Regions from separate parts of the Homo sapiens genome. Here all the other regions are linked to region 3. Evidence: promoter capture Hi-C in 16 types of primary human blood cells and fetal thymus (Javierre and others, 2016). All regions are on one chromosome and are shown on one strand. The core of a region is centred on a gene start or on the middle of the fragment in contact, and the rest is flanking DNA. Distances in the headings are between cores, read along the strand shown.

The links. Contacts are between HindIII fragments. The CHiCAGO score rates a contact against its expected background, and 5 or more counts as called.
Region 1: a contact is called between a fragment that was not itself captured here and the fragment with the promoter of RABEP1 in region 3, in 2 of 17 cell types (fetal thymus and total B cells). The highest score is 7.7, in fetal thymus.
Region 2: a fragment that was not itself captured here is called in contact with the fragment with the promoter of RABEP1 in region 3 in 1 of 17 cell types (total B cells); the score reaches 5.2 in total B cells.

The regions. Positions count from the first base shown.
Region 1 is chr17:5,434,057-5,438,721 of GRCh38, reverse strand. It overlaps C1QBP (complement C1q binding protein), which reads left to right. Exons shown (of 6, transcript NM_001212.4): 2 at 449-599; 3 at 3,756-3,849. Among named protein-coding and RNA genes, the nearest start is that of C1QBP, 2.8 kb to the left of the region's middle. The HindIII fragment of the contact is 4,188 bases long and covers 460-4,647 here.
Region 2 is chr17:5,451,248-5,455,650 of GRCh38, reverse strand. It overlaps DHX33 (DEAH-box helicase 33), which reads left to right. Exons shown (of 12, transcript NM_020162.4): 6 at 380-491; 7 at 1,671-1,830; 8 at 1,983-2,071. Among named protein-coding and RNA genes, the nearest start is that of C1QBP, 14 kb to the right of the region's middle. The HindIII fragment of the contact is 6,981 bases long and covers 1-4,403 here.
Region 3 is chr17:5,279,224-5,283,825 of GRCh38, reverse strand. RABEP1 (rabaptin, RAB GTPase binding effector protein 1) reads right to left here and starts at 1,542. Exons shown (of 18, transcript NM_004703.6): 1 at 1,306-1,542. The coding sequence starts at 1,339. RefSeq lists a silencer at 1,103-1,822. The HindIII fragment of the contact is 5,707 bases long and covers 1-2,325 here.

The DNA of each region.
Region 1 (4,665 bases), core at 1,304-3,803, 150 kb before region 3:
GGGCTAAACCCACGTATGATCATATTTCCCCCACCTCCCCTATCCAGCAGTTTCGTTTTCTTTTGGTAGGGGGTGAATAAAATTAAATACTAGGGTACCTTTTTCCTTAGTCTTATTCTATCGAAAGTGGACCTTTGGGAAGGCCCATGGTCGTGGTTGAAAATAGCATAGTTATATCGTTTGGCAAGTGGAAGAGGATTGGAAATTCTCCTGGTTTATAGCGGAAAGTGGTAATGCGTTCATTGTTGGAAATCACTTTTCCAGAATCAGGCTCAGCTTCCTACTACTATTATGGTATTTTTACCGATAAGGAAACAGGCTTCTAGAGTAACCGTAATAGCAGAGAGATTAGAAACAGTCCAGGTTTCTGGCTGCAATAACCTGGGTAATAGTTTTATGTTTTAGACTAACTGGCTTTCCTTTTTATGTATCTGGATTTCTTTTCTAGGAGACAAAGCTTTTGTTGATTTCCTGAGTGATGAAATTAAGGAGGAAAGAAAAATTCAGAAGCATAAAACCCTCCCTAAGATGTCTGGAGGTTGGGAGCTGGAACTGAATGGGACAGAAGCGAAATTAGTGCGGAAAGTTGCCGGGGAAAAGTAAGTACTGGTCTGGGGATCCCAGGGCAGCAACTCCCTTAACCTTGCAGGACCCATCCTGGGTCATCCCCAGAAGAGCCTTGAGTTCAGGTGTGGATACTTTGATAAATGGGTTTCAAGAGAGTGAAGGATTCATTTGGACAACTTCGTAAGCCCCAGGCAGTCCATTCACCGAACACAAATTTGCTGTGGGCTGGTTACTAAGGAGACAAAAATGTAGTGCAAAAAAGTACTGGCAGAATCAGTTTGATCTCTGATTTACAGCCCTGATAAAATAGGACACTGCTCTCTAATGTTTAGTATGGGTGAAAATGAAAAATATGTAACTTCTATGTAACAGGATGGGGTTACACTGTAGTAAGGGCTGCCATCAGAGGTGGGGAGTTTGTGACCTAAGTCAGCTCCCCCATCATCTCCTAAACTGTTAAAGTGTTTACACTTTTCTGCATTATAGTCATCCATAATCTCATTACACAGATAAACATTTGGCATCTTCCAGGTTTTTAAATTGAGCCTGGGCGCGGTGGCTCACACCCATAATCCCAGCACTTTGGGACGGGCAGATCATGAGGTCAGGAGAAAATCCTGGCTAACACTAAAACCCTGGCTCTAGTAAAAATTAACCGGGTATGGTGGCACGTGCCTGTAGTCCCAGCTACTCGGGAGGCTGAGGCAGGGGAATCGCTTGAACCTGGGAGGTGGAGGTTGCAGTGAGTCGAGATCGCGCCACCGCGCTCCAGCCTGGGCAACAGAGCAAGACGCCATCTCAATAATAAATAAATAAATTGAATTTCCTTCATAATTGACCTTATGATGTGTATGTAATTTTTTTAAATCACAGCTTTTATGAGATTTAATTGAGATGGCATACGATTTACCCATTTATTGAAGTTTATTAAATTAAGTGGTTCTTAGTCCTCGCAGAATTATGCATCAGTTATCACTACCTAATTCTAGAACACTGTTGTCATCCCCAAACAATACCTATTAGCAGTCACTCATTATTCCTCCCTGTAGCCACCCCAGGTAATCACTAAGCTACTTTCTCTATGGGATTGCCTCTTTTGGACATTTCATATAAATGGAGTCATACAATTTGTAGCTTCCCCCCCCAACCCCACGGAGTCTTGCTCTGTCACCCAGGATGGAGTGCAGTGGTGCGATCTTGGCTCACTGCAACCTCTGCCTCCCAGGTTCTGACAATTCTCCTGCCTCAGCCTCCTTAGCTGGGATTACAGGCGTGCGTCCGGTTAATTTTTGTATTTTTAGTAGAGACAGGGTTTCACCGTGTTGGCCAGGCTGGTCTCAAAGTCCTGACCTCGTGATCCGCCCGCCTTGGCCTCCCAAAGTGCTGGGATTTCAGGTGTGAGCCACCCTGCCCACCCTATTTACCTTTTTAATTGTTGGGTTGTAAAAGTTAAGTTTTTCTGGGTACAACTATCTTATCAAATTAATGATTTGTAAGTACTGTTTCCCATCTTGTGGGTTTCCTTTTCACTTTCTTGGTAATGTCCTCTGACACAAAAGTTTTTAATTTTGAGGAAGTTCAGTTTACCTATTTTTTTGGTCGCTTGTGCTTTTTTATTTATTTTTTACTTTGCTTCTAATTCACCAAGTGCAACTTGTGCTTTTTTAGTGTCACGTCTAAGAAACCACTGCCTAACCCAAGGTTGTGAAGATGTATGCCTTAATTTTTTCAAAGTTTTCTAGTTTTAGCTCTTAGTTTAGGTCTGTGATTCATTTTGAATATGGTGTGAAGTAGGGTCCTGATTCTCTTGCCTGTTGCATAGTGTGTTTTTGCCCTACACAGGTCAATTGTGTCTTCTGTAATCTCACCTAAACACCATTTGCGCAAGGTTTTCATAGCTATTTGGGGGCCATTAAAAATAATGCTCTGATGAACGTCATTCAATTTCTGTGCCCAGGAGCTCAGCTTAGTCAGCACAGTTGGAATTAGACAGATTTTGTCAACCTCAGACTGCCTCTGTTGCCATGGAAAGGTGGCTTCCTGGCAGAGCAGCTAGTTAGCACAAGTGGAGGGCGGCACTTCATGTACTCTTTTTTTTTTTTTTTTTTTTCTGACAGAGTCTTGCTGTGTCTCCAGGCTGGAGAGCAGTGGCGTGATCTCGGCTCACTGCAACCTCCACCTCCCAGGTTCAAGCAATTCTCCTGCCTCAGCCTCCTGAGTAGCTGGGATTACAGGCGCGTACCACCACGCCCAGCTAATTTTTTTTTTTTTTTTTTTTTTGTATTTTTTAGTAGAGATGGAGTTTCATCGTGTTGGCCAGGATGGTCTCGATCTCTTGACCTCGTGATCTGCCCACCTCGGCCTCCCAAAGTGCTGGGATTACAGGCGTGAGCCACTGCGCCCAGCCTTCATGTACTCTTGTGTGGAATGGTGCCTGCCAGAGTTGCATAGCCCAGCAGTTTTGGTTCTAAACCTTATGTCCCAAGAATTTTGACTCAAACTTTGGAACATGATTTGTCAGGTGTGGATTCTTGCACCTTAAAATTGTCACTAGTTGGTGTGTCTGGCCTGCTTTGTGATTATGAAACTTCCCACAAGTACTCTAAGGGATGAGTCTCTACTACAGCCCTTGTTCTTTGTGAGGCATTCCCTTCCCCGTTCCAGGGCTGCTCTCGGTGTTTAGCAGAGGCACCCTCCATCGCTTCTTCCTTTCCTTGCAGGGCAAATTTTCTGACGGGGAAAGTCTCTTAAAGGGGCTTCTGTTCCATCTCACCAGCCTCTCAGGTCCTTACTTTGACCAAGGGTTCCCTGGAAAGACCAGGGTGGGCAGTGTCAGCTGGCTGTGGCCATGAGATGCCCAGTCAGCACATGGCAGTGAGCCCTGGGGTACTGGCCCTGTTGGGAGTAACCCATGCATGACTTGTTTGGCTGAGATAAACTGAGGCCAGCTTTGGCTTCCAGCAGCTGGTACATGGTAGGCACACTTCAGACCTGCTGAGTCACTCAGGATTGGATGTAGGCACCCAGCCTAGTTTGAAGTTCTGCATATAATTCAGCCAGCTAGGACAGAGACATTGTTTCAATACGCCTTTTTAACTGTAGCAGATTTCCATGTTTATGTGTTAACCTGCTCGGTTAAAACCATGCCTTGTCTGTTTTGCCTTGTCTGTTTTCCCTTGCCGTTTTAGAATCACGGTCACTTTCAACATTAACAACAGCATCCCACCAACATTTGATGGTGAGGAGGAACCCTCGCAAGGGCAGAAGGTTGAAGAACAGGAGGTAAGCTAATACTATAATCAGCTTTTACCTCAGTTCTGACAGGCTGTGCCTGGGGCTTAGAGGAGGAGCGTTTTTCTTTGGTCTTTCAAAAAAAAAAAATTCCTCTAAGTCCAGTCGCATGGCTCACGCCTATAATCCCAGCACTTTGGGAGGCCGAGACGGGCAGATCACGAGGTCAAGAGATCGAGACCATCCTGGCCAACATGGTGAAACCCCGTCTCTACTAAAAATACAAAAATTAGCTGGGCATGGTGGCAGGTCCCTGTAATCCCAGCTACTCGGGAGGCTGAGGCAGGAGAATCGCTTGAACCCGGGAGGCAGAGGTTGCGGTGAGCCAAGATCACACCACTGCACTCCAGCCTGGCGACAGAGCAAGACTCTGTCTCAAAAAAAAAAAAAAAAAAAAAAGAGAGAGAGAATGGCAGGGGCATAAGAGACTTTAACTGGATCATGCCTACTCTTCAAACATTTCAGGAAGTGCTGTGCCCAGCCTAGTAACCAGCCAGTATGAGGGCCACAGAGTCCCTAGACATTCTGCCCAAGAGCCATCAGTACAGTGTTGGGTCATGACCTGGTGTGGACGGCGCAGCTCTCTGGTGTGCTGCTTTCCCAGCCACCCCAACTAGCATCTCCCTGACGTTGGACCCAGTCTGCTCCCAGAGCTCCGCATCAGAGGAAAAGCTGCTGCTGTTATTCAGCCATAAGGATGGCCAGGTTCCCCAGCCTTTGACCCTGGTCCCTTATGAAGACTCCTGGAACAGTCAAGCTGGAAAGAGATCTTGAAACTTTAGGAAAGCTTTGCAGTGTACGGGTGGA
Region 2 (4,403 bases), core at 1,150-3,649, 170 kb before region 3:
GTCATCCTCGTGGGAACCGGCAAGGCAGGTTATGATCCCATGGGGATCCTGAGGCCCCAAGAAGGGAAGTAACAATTGCTCAAGGGGGCGCATAGTAAGTCACTGGCAGGGCCACGATTCCAACCCACATCTACTTGCTTCTGATTCCTGTGCTTGTTCCACTGCATCTCATTGCCTCAAATTGACCTTTAAGACTGCAGCGTCCCCTTCCCCTGCCCGGTTTAATGACCAACCATTAATATTAATGACTGCCATTAATAATGGAGTCATCTTCTGTTGGTCAAGAGTGAATTGTGGAAGTTAATGGTGAGAATATGTTTGAAGACTTCTGAATCATCCGTGTGTCAATGCGGCTTTTTGGTTTTCTTCCTCCTTTTAGGGCTATCGCAAAGTGATCATTTCAACCAACATCGCTGAAACCTCCATAACCATTACAGGAATAAAATATGTAGTTGACACGGGCATGGTTAAAGCAAAGAAGTATAACCCTGGTGAGAATTTGTAGTTCATGAATGTCTCTCCTGTGTCTAGTGAGCAGCCACTGAAACTGTAGTCCCACAGTTTTCCCCTGAGTGTTTCATGTTTGTAACTAACAAATTCAGGTGGCAGGCGCCATGAGTGAGATCACCTACACTCCAGGTCCGCGAAGGAGTCCTGAGGCGGGTATGTGAGACAGGAAGTAGAGGCAGGAAAGAAGAGCCCAGGTTGAGCAAACTTGGGCACACAGGGTCAGGGACCTGGGCAGAGGGTCTGGTACCCCATCAGAAGTCGGCTCTAAGGCCAGGGACAGCTGGGTGTCAATCAAAGGGTGTCATCAGAAACTATATATATATGGCTGGTTTGAGCTCCCAGGTTTCTCAGGAAGGAACCAGATCTCCTGGCTGAGGTGAGGCATGGAAGGAGCACTGGCTTCTCCTAAGAAGGTGCAGTGAGAAGCTAACTTAAGGTCATCTTGACTCATGTCTGTTTTATACTTTGCTTTATTCCACAGAGGATTTGAGACCACTGAAATTATTGCTCCCAATTATTGAACTGAAATGCTCTAGTAAACATTTGAGGGTCCTGGCTTCCACAGGTGTATCTTTTTGTGATGACGTAGGTGAAAGAGCTTGGGTCTCCAGTGCCAGGCTAATGATACACCTTTATCAAGAAAATGAACCTCATTTACTGCTAGAAAACAGACATCACATTATTTCTGTCTTACAGCAGAACTGGGAGGGAGGATAAAGCACACAAGTGATTTGAGGCATTTAATTTCGTAGTCATTGATTGATAGTATGACCCCCATCCTAGTTTGCTGAAACTCCCAGTTTTAGCACCCAAAATCCGACATCCCAGGAAACCCTCTGTCCCAAGCAAACTGGAGGGGTTGGCCATCCTACCATCTAAGGCAAGACCTCGGAAACTACTCTTCTCGCCCCTTGCTGCATGCGTGAGGTTTTTCTGATGTTTTTGTAACAGATTTCACAGTGGGCTTATGGCAAAGCCTTGTTTCACTAGGGCCAAACCGCTGCGGAGCAGTCTGGTTTTGTGCTGTCCATTGTGCTAGCCTTGAGGCTTTCTGGACCCCCGTGTTGCTGAAAGAACCACTGGTGTGCTTCTTTTTATCGACACTGTAGAAAGAGTTTGTTCATGTGATGAAGCACTAATGGGGCTCACTCTCCATCCAGACAGTGGTCTTGAGGTGTTAGCAGTGCAGCGGGTATCGAAGACGCAGGCTTGGCAGCGCACAGGGAGGGCTGGCAGAGAGGACAGTGGCATCTGCTACCGGCTCTACACGGAGGACGAGTTTGAGAAGTTTGATAAGATGACCGTGCCAGAGATCCAGAGGTAGGCACCAGTTGCTCCTGCACTGCTGCTGTTTGTCACCATGTCTCTCCTGCTTGCCCAGAGCTGCAGTTTTTACTCACACTCCACCATGAGGGGTTCTGACTCAATGGCAGAGGGATCAGGTCATGACCCTGGTCTCATGCTCTTCACAGGTGTAACCTGGCCAGTGTGATGCTTCAGCTTCTAGCAATGAAAGTCCCAAATGTGCTCACCTTTGACTTCATGTCGAAGCCATCTCCAGGTAAGTGAAATCCACAGTTTTGCAGAAGGTGGGTGAGGAGACAAACAACAACAAATGGACACTTCCAAAAAAATAAAGTATATTGGTCATCTCCTTTTGTTTATTTAATTTTGTGGATGACAACATTAGTTATTAGAGAAGCATCTGAAAATCATGAAATGATAGATAGATACATTGATTGACTTTTAAAGAGACAGGGTCTCACTGTGTGGCCCAGGTGGAGGTGCAGTGACTATTCACAGGCTCCATCACAGCCTCCAACTCCTGGGCTCCAGCGATCCCCCCGCCTCAGCCTCCCAAGTAGCTGGGACCACAGGCATGCGCCAGTGTTCCTAGCTATGAAACGATAGATTCTGTACTATCAGCACCATCAATAAAGTTCCTTGACCTCTGGAACCAGTGAAGGTCATCATGCGAGTCCTTGGGATACTACAGAAATGTAATGAAATTGTACTTTTATCAGCACAGGGACTGCAAAGATCACATTTCTTTGCCTTTAACTGGAATTTGATCCATCTCTCCTGTTCATTAGTAATTTCTCTACAGAAGAAGAAAATAATTGGAAATATTTATGATATTGGCTTTGGCACCTGGCCTCTCATCAACGCACCATTTTCCTTTTCTTTTTATTGCCCCCCCTTTTCTTAAGAAATGCAATTGGTTTAAAAAAGAAGGAAAGAAAACACAAAGTCACCAGTTGATGGGTATACAAGGGTCCTGCCCTGATCCTCAGGTTCACAGTTTCCTTCCCCTAGAACAACCACTGGAACCATTTTCTAGTAGACTTCTAGAGCAAATGTATGCATATATGAGTATATGTAGTGTGTTTGATTTTATTTATGTATTTATTTATTTATTTTTGAGACAGGGTCTCACTCTGGTTGTCCAGGCTGGAGTGCAGTGGCACATTCTCAGCACACTGCAGCCTCAACCTCCCGGGCTCAGGTGATTCTCCCACATCAGCTTCCCAAGTAGCTGGGACTACAGGTGTGAGCCACCAAGCCCCTGCTGTAGTATGTTTTTGTTTTTGTTTTTGTTTTGAGACAGGGTCTCACTCTGTTGCCCAGGCTGGAGTGCAGTGGTGCGATCCCAGCTCACTGCAACCTCCACCTGCCGGGTTCAGGTGATTCTCCTGCCTCAGCCTCCCGAGTAGCTAGGACTACAGGTGTGCACCACCATGCCCGGCTAATTTTTGTATTTTTTAGTATAGATGGAGTTTCACTATGTTGACCAGGCTGGTCTTGAACTCCTGACCTAGGTGGTCCGCCCACCTCGGTCTCCCAAAGTGCTGGGATTACAGGCGTGAGCCACCACGCCCAGCCTGTAGTATGTTTTAAAACACAAATAGCAACACACATTGAGTATTGTTCTGTGCTTGATTTTTTTTCTTTCATTGCTAAATTCTTACATACAAATGAAGAAGATACATAAGGTGTAAGGAATGGTTAAAATCTAACACCTGTGTACCCAATTGAAGCCCCCAGGAGTCCCCCCCACCCACTTGCCCTCGCCTCCTTCCACTCTTTTGGGGTACCCACTCTTCCATATTTTGTTTGTAATTGCCTTGCTTTTCTTCACTGTTTTACTATATGCGTATGTATCCCTAAACCACCTGTTGTTTGTAAGTTTATGTTAGTTATTCTTGAGTAAGCGGTTTTCATTCAGCTTGTTCCGTATAGTATATTTGTGCTGATGCTTTTTCACACTAAGTGCTATTCCATTCTGTGAATAAACCAAAATGCATTTATCCATCCTTCAGTTGATAAATATTGCTTTAAAAAAGCAATGAGAAACACACTGCTTTTTTTCATTTAATACATTTTACAGATCACTCCTTATTGGGATGTATATATTTACTACATCCTTAGAAATGCTTTTTTATTCTTTAATAGGTACTATATTTACATGGTTCAAAGTTTAAAATATATAAAATAGTAAATAGTAATAATGTCCTTCTCATCCCCTTGTCTCCCAGCCTCCCCAGCTGGCCCCTGAGACAACTGCTATTTCCACTGTTATGTGTTTGGTTCTGGCGATATGGTCTCTGTGCGATGTGTATCTGCAGGTGAAATTCGTAAGTGTAACATTGCTGGGTCAGATGTTACACTTTTAATGTGTATATTCAAAATCTACATACATATTGCCAAATTACAGGTCATTTAAAAAGAAAATTGAGGCTGGGCATGGTGGCTCACACCTGTAATCCTAGCACTTTGGGAGGTCAAGGTGGGCAGATCACCTGAGGTCAAGAGTTTGAGACCAGCCTGGCTAACATGGTGAAACCCCGTCTCACTAAAAATACAAAAATTAGCTGGGCGCGGTGGTGGGCGCC
Region 3 (4,602 bases), core at 293-2,792:
CCCCTTAGGCAAGCAACAACACCCAAAACTACAGGCTAACAGGCTCTGAAGCACATTTCCCAGAGAGCAGCCAGAACCTTAAAATCTGATAACATGGTTTCAAGTTCCCCAAAGGCAAAAATAAAAAGTAAGGGTTTCACGAAAGGTTATTTTGAGACAACCCCAAGGAAAGCCAAGTTTTAAAGTACCTACTCCGTACCAAGCCCCTTTTCCCAACATTCTACTCTACTCACACTTAAAGATGCTAAGCACACACGCTGATTATAGAAATACACCAGAAAGTACTTTCACAACTAGATACAGTGGGACCTTGGAAAAGCCCAAGCACACTATTTCCAAACATCTATTCTAGGTGGTAAAACCTGGAACCATGTAGTCAATCTGTGAAGCACAGCTTAGTCCAATTTCCCAGAAGGTCACGAAGGGCTCTGACAACCAACTTTGATTATTTAGGATGGGGCCCTTTTTTCCTTCCAAGAATATAAATGACACATTTCTTCGACTTCACTTTTTTTTTTTTAGTTCCACAAGCAAATATCTTCAAGTAGTGCAAGTAGGCCTCAGCATTCTCAAACACTATTCTCATTATTCCTAATACCTCCATAATACTATTATTGTATATACACATTCGTGTTGCTATTTTTATAGATAAAATATAAAGGCATGAATTAACCTCTTGGTTAATTCGTGGGTGAGAATACTGAGGCTCAACGAGGCTAAGAAATGAGCCCAGAGCTTGCTGGTTAAGAATACAGGTCCTCTAGACTCCCAGGCCCCAACACTTAACCATTAAGCCACACTGCCATTCAGGGAATGCTACTAAATCCAGTTACTGTACACAACTACTTTCAGGTCACATAACTGGGTGCAAAGAGTTCTATAGCAAGGATTGGGGCGGCAGGGAGGGTACACTACCTAAGCTAAGATTTTTTTTCTTTAACGAATATAGCACATGTTCCCGATTTCCATCCTCCCCCACGGGCAGAACCCACGTGCCGGTCCCCCGCTACCCAGAACCGCTCCCTCCCCACACTACCCCACGCTACCCAGCAGCCTCCCCACGCCCTTCCCTCTGCCCTCCCGCAAGCGCTGCACCCGCGCCTCCCGCCCCCTCCCCAGCGACGGCAGCCGGGGCGCCCGCGCCGCCCTCGCGCGCCGCAGCCCGCGCGCCCCCGCCTCCGCCCGGCGGGGTCACCCCCGGGGCCTGCGCGCGCCCTTGCCGCCGCCTGCCCGCCCCGAAATCCTCCCGCGACGCCGACGCCGGGCAGGCCGCGCCCGCCGCGCCTGCCATGGTGGGCGCCTCACCGTCAGGCTGGGAAGCCGGGCCCGGCTGCGCCATGACCAGGCGGCCGGCCTCGGGGAGCGGGGATGGGCGGGGAAGCGGCGTCCTGGGCTCCCGCGGGCTCAGCTGGCGGAGGAGGCGTCAACCGAGCCGCCGCCGCCGCCGCCCAGAGAGAAACCGCTAAGGCTGGATCCGCCGGCGCCGCCACAGCCGCGGGCAGAGACGGACCCGACCGCCGACCTCCGCCTCCTCATCCTGACAGCGGGAAATAAGCAGTGCGCAGGCGCAGGGGGATGGGGCGGCACGTGACGTTGGCCCGAGGGGAGGGGCGGGGCCTCGGGAGCGCGGAGGGAGCGCGGAGGGAGCGCGGAGGGAGCGCGGAGGGAGCGCGGAGGGAGCGCGGAGGGAGCGCGGAGGGAGCGCGGAGGGAGCGCGGAGGGAGCGCGGCGGGAGGGGAGGGTTTCGGCGGAGCTGGGCGCCTGACCCAGCGGCGCGGGGAGGCTGAGTGCCGAGCGGAGCTGGAGAAGAGGGGCTGCAGCAGAGGCCTGGCCTCTCGAAGGTGCCGGTCCCGGTTCTCCACCCCAGCACAGTGAGGGGAAAAAAAAAAATGAGTAAGAGAGGAGGACCGATGGCGGGGTGCAGTTCCAGCCTCTACCTCTTCTAGCTTTGCGACCTTGGGAGAGTCACTTCACCTCTTGGAATTTTTATCAATATAATGGCTAAGAAAAGTTTAAACGAGGTAATAAAGTATGAAGAACTGTTTCCGACAGTACTGGGCCTGGACCCCAGGTCTTCTGGTGCAGAGGCCAGTATACTATCCATTCAGCAAATACGTTTGGGTTTTCAGTCGTGATAGATGCTGGAGATACAGCCAGGTACAGACCCTGCACTCATGGCAGGAAAGGAGAAATCATATACACAAAGTGTGGCCCTTATACTTGGGCCCCTGGGCCCTATACTTTAGGAACTCCCCTCTAATCACCACTCCCCGTCTGATTTCGACACCTGGAGTGCCCCATGCCAAGGAGGTAGTTTAAAAAGCTTTTTTTTTTTTTTTGGAGATAGAGTCTCACTCTGACACCCAGGCTGGAGTGCCATGGTGCGATCTCGGCTCACTGCAACCTCTGCCTCCCGGGTTCAAGCAATTCTCCTGCCTCAGCCTCCCGACTAGCTGGGACAACAGGCGCACGCCACCACACCCGGCTAATTTTTGTATTTTTAGTAGAGACGGGGTTTCACTATGTTGGTCAGGCTGGTCTCAAACCCTTGACCTCGTGATCCGCCTGCCTCAGCCTCCCAAAGTGCTGGGATTACAGGCGTGAGCCACCGCGCCCGGCCTAAAAAGCTATTTTGAAATCAGAGAGGAGCATCAGGAATTATGTACATTTTAAGACCCAGCAATCCCACCCCAGGATGAGGGAGTCCACAGGGTTTGGCACTTCAGGACCAAGTTCTGAATACTTGTGGCCCCAGAATTCCCTTTCCAGATGGCTGAAGCTGTGGTCTCTTTCCCAGATCCATTCTCTCTATGGCAGAGTCTAGACATCCCTAAAAGAAGCTAAAGTGAAAGCATAAAGAATGAGTTCATGTCCTTTGCAGGGACATGCATGAAGCTGGAAACCATCATTCTCAGCAAACTAACACAGGAAAAGAAAACCAAACACCTCATGTTCTCACTCATAAGTGGGAATTGAATAATGAGAACACATGGACACAGGGAGGGGAACATCACACACCGGGGCCTGTGGGGGGTGGGGGGAAGGGGAGGGAGAGCATTAGGACAAATACCTAATGCATGCGGGGCTTAAAACCTAGATGACGGGTTGATAGATGCAGCAAACCACCATGGCACATGTATACCTATGTAACAAACCTGCACGTTTAGCACATGTATCCAAGAATTTAAAGTATAATAAAAAAATAATAATAGGCCGGGCACAGTGGCTCACGCCTGTAATCCCAGCACTTTGGGAGACTGAGGCAGGTGGATCACGAGGTCAGGAGTTCAAGATCAGCCTCTCCAAGATGGTGAAACCCCATCTCTACTAAAAATACAAAAAATTAGTCGGGTGTGGTGGCAGGCGCCTGTACTCCCAGCTACTCGGGAGGCTGAGGCAGAGAATTGCTTGAACCCAGAAGGCGGAGGTTGCAGTGAGCCAAGATCGCACCACTGCCAGCCTGGGCGACAGATCGAGACTCCATCTCAAATAATAATAATAATAATCAGAAAATCCACTAATTAGAATCAGTTTCTACTTTCTTTAAATCATTTGTTTTAAATAAGGTATACTTTTATTAAAATGATTATTTCTCACTGAAAAAAAGGGAGGCTAAAGGGCAGCTTTGTTTTATTTTAAGGGGGTGACACGACACTTGGGTGTTTGAGCTCCTATGTCCACAGATCCCTCATGGTGCAGGACAGAGGTGAGAAAAGAAGGCAAGTGAGCCAAGAGACAATAGTTGGGCCAGGGCCTGTGCTGCTTTCGCCACCTCATTCATGGGCATAACTCCCAGGAGCCCAGGAATTCTAAATTTAAACCTGGTCTTCCAGGTCTTAAACAGGTAGATTTGTCCAAGTAGAAGGATAGACTGTATTAAGGTTAGCGGTTAATTGGAGTAGTTTGTAATTTTATTTTATTTTATTATTTATTTAATTTTTGGAGACGGAGTCTCTCACTCTATTGCCCAGGCTGGAGGGCAGTGGCACCATCTCAGCTCACTGCAACCTCCACCTCCCGGATTCCAGTGATTCTCCTGCCTCAGCCTCCTGAGTAGCTAGGATTATAGGCGTGTGTCACCACGCCCAGTTAACTCTTGTAATTTTAGTAGAGACAGGGTTTCACCATGTTAGCCCGGCTGGTCTTGAACTCCTGACCTCAAGTGATCTACCCACCTCGGCCTCCCAAAGTGCTGGGATTACAGGTGTGAGCCACCACGTCCAAACTGGTTTGTAATTTTAAATAATTTAGGTATCTATTTGTACTTTTGCCCCAGGTCCTGCCATCGTTAGAGGAGAGCCAAAATACAGACTCGAGTTTTTTGAGCAGTTAATGTCTCCCAAATGGCTGGTGTGCATTTGAGAGAGCAAGCAGGGTCTCCCCAACACCCTGCCCAACCCCCCATAAATGATTTTCCTGGATGAGCAAATCCATGCTTACCAGGAAGACCTTTGGCCAGGATAGGGCAGCCCAGTGCATCCTCTGTATTGTTGTGATGACTAACACGAGGCATAAGCCATAAAGATAGCAGATGCGGCCAGGTGTGGTGGCTCACGCCTGTAATCCCAGCACTTTGGGAGGCCGAGGCGGGCAGATCATTTG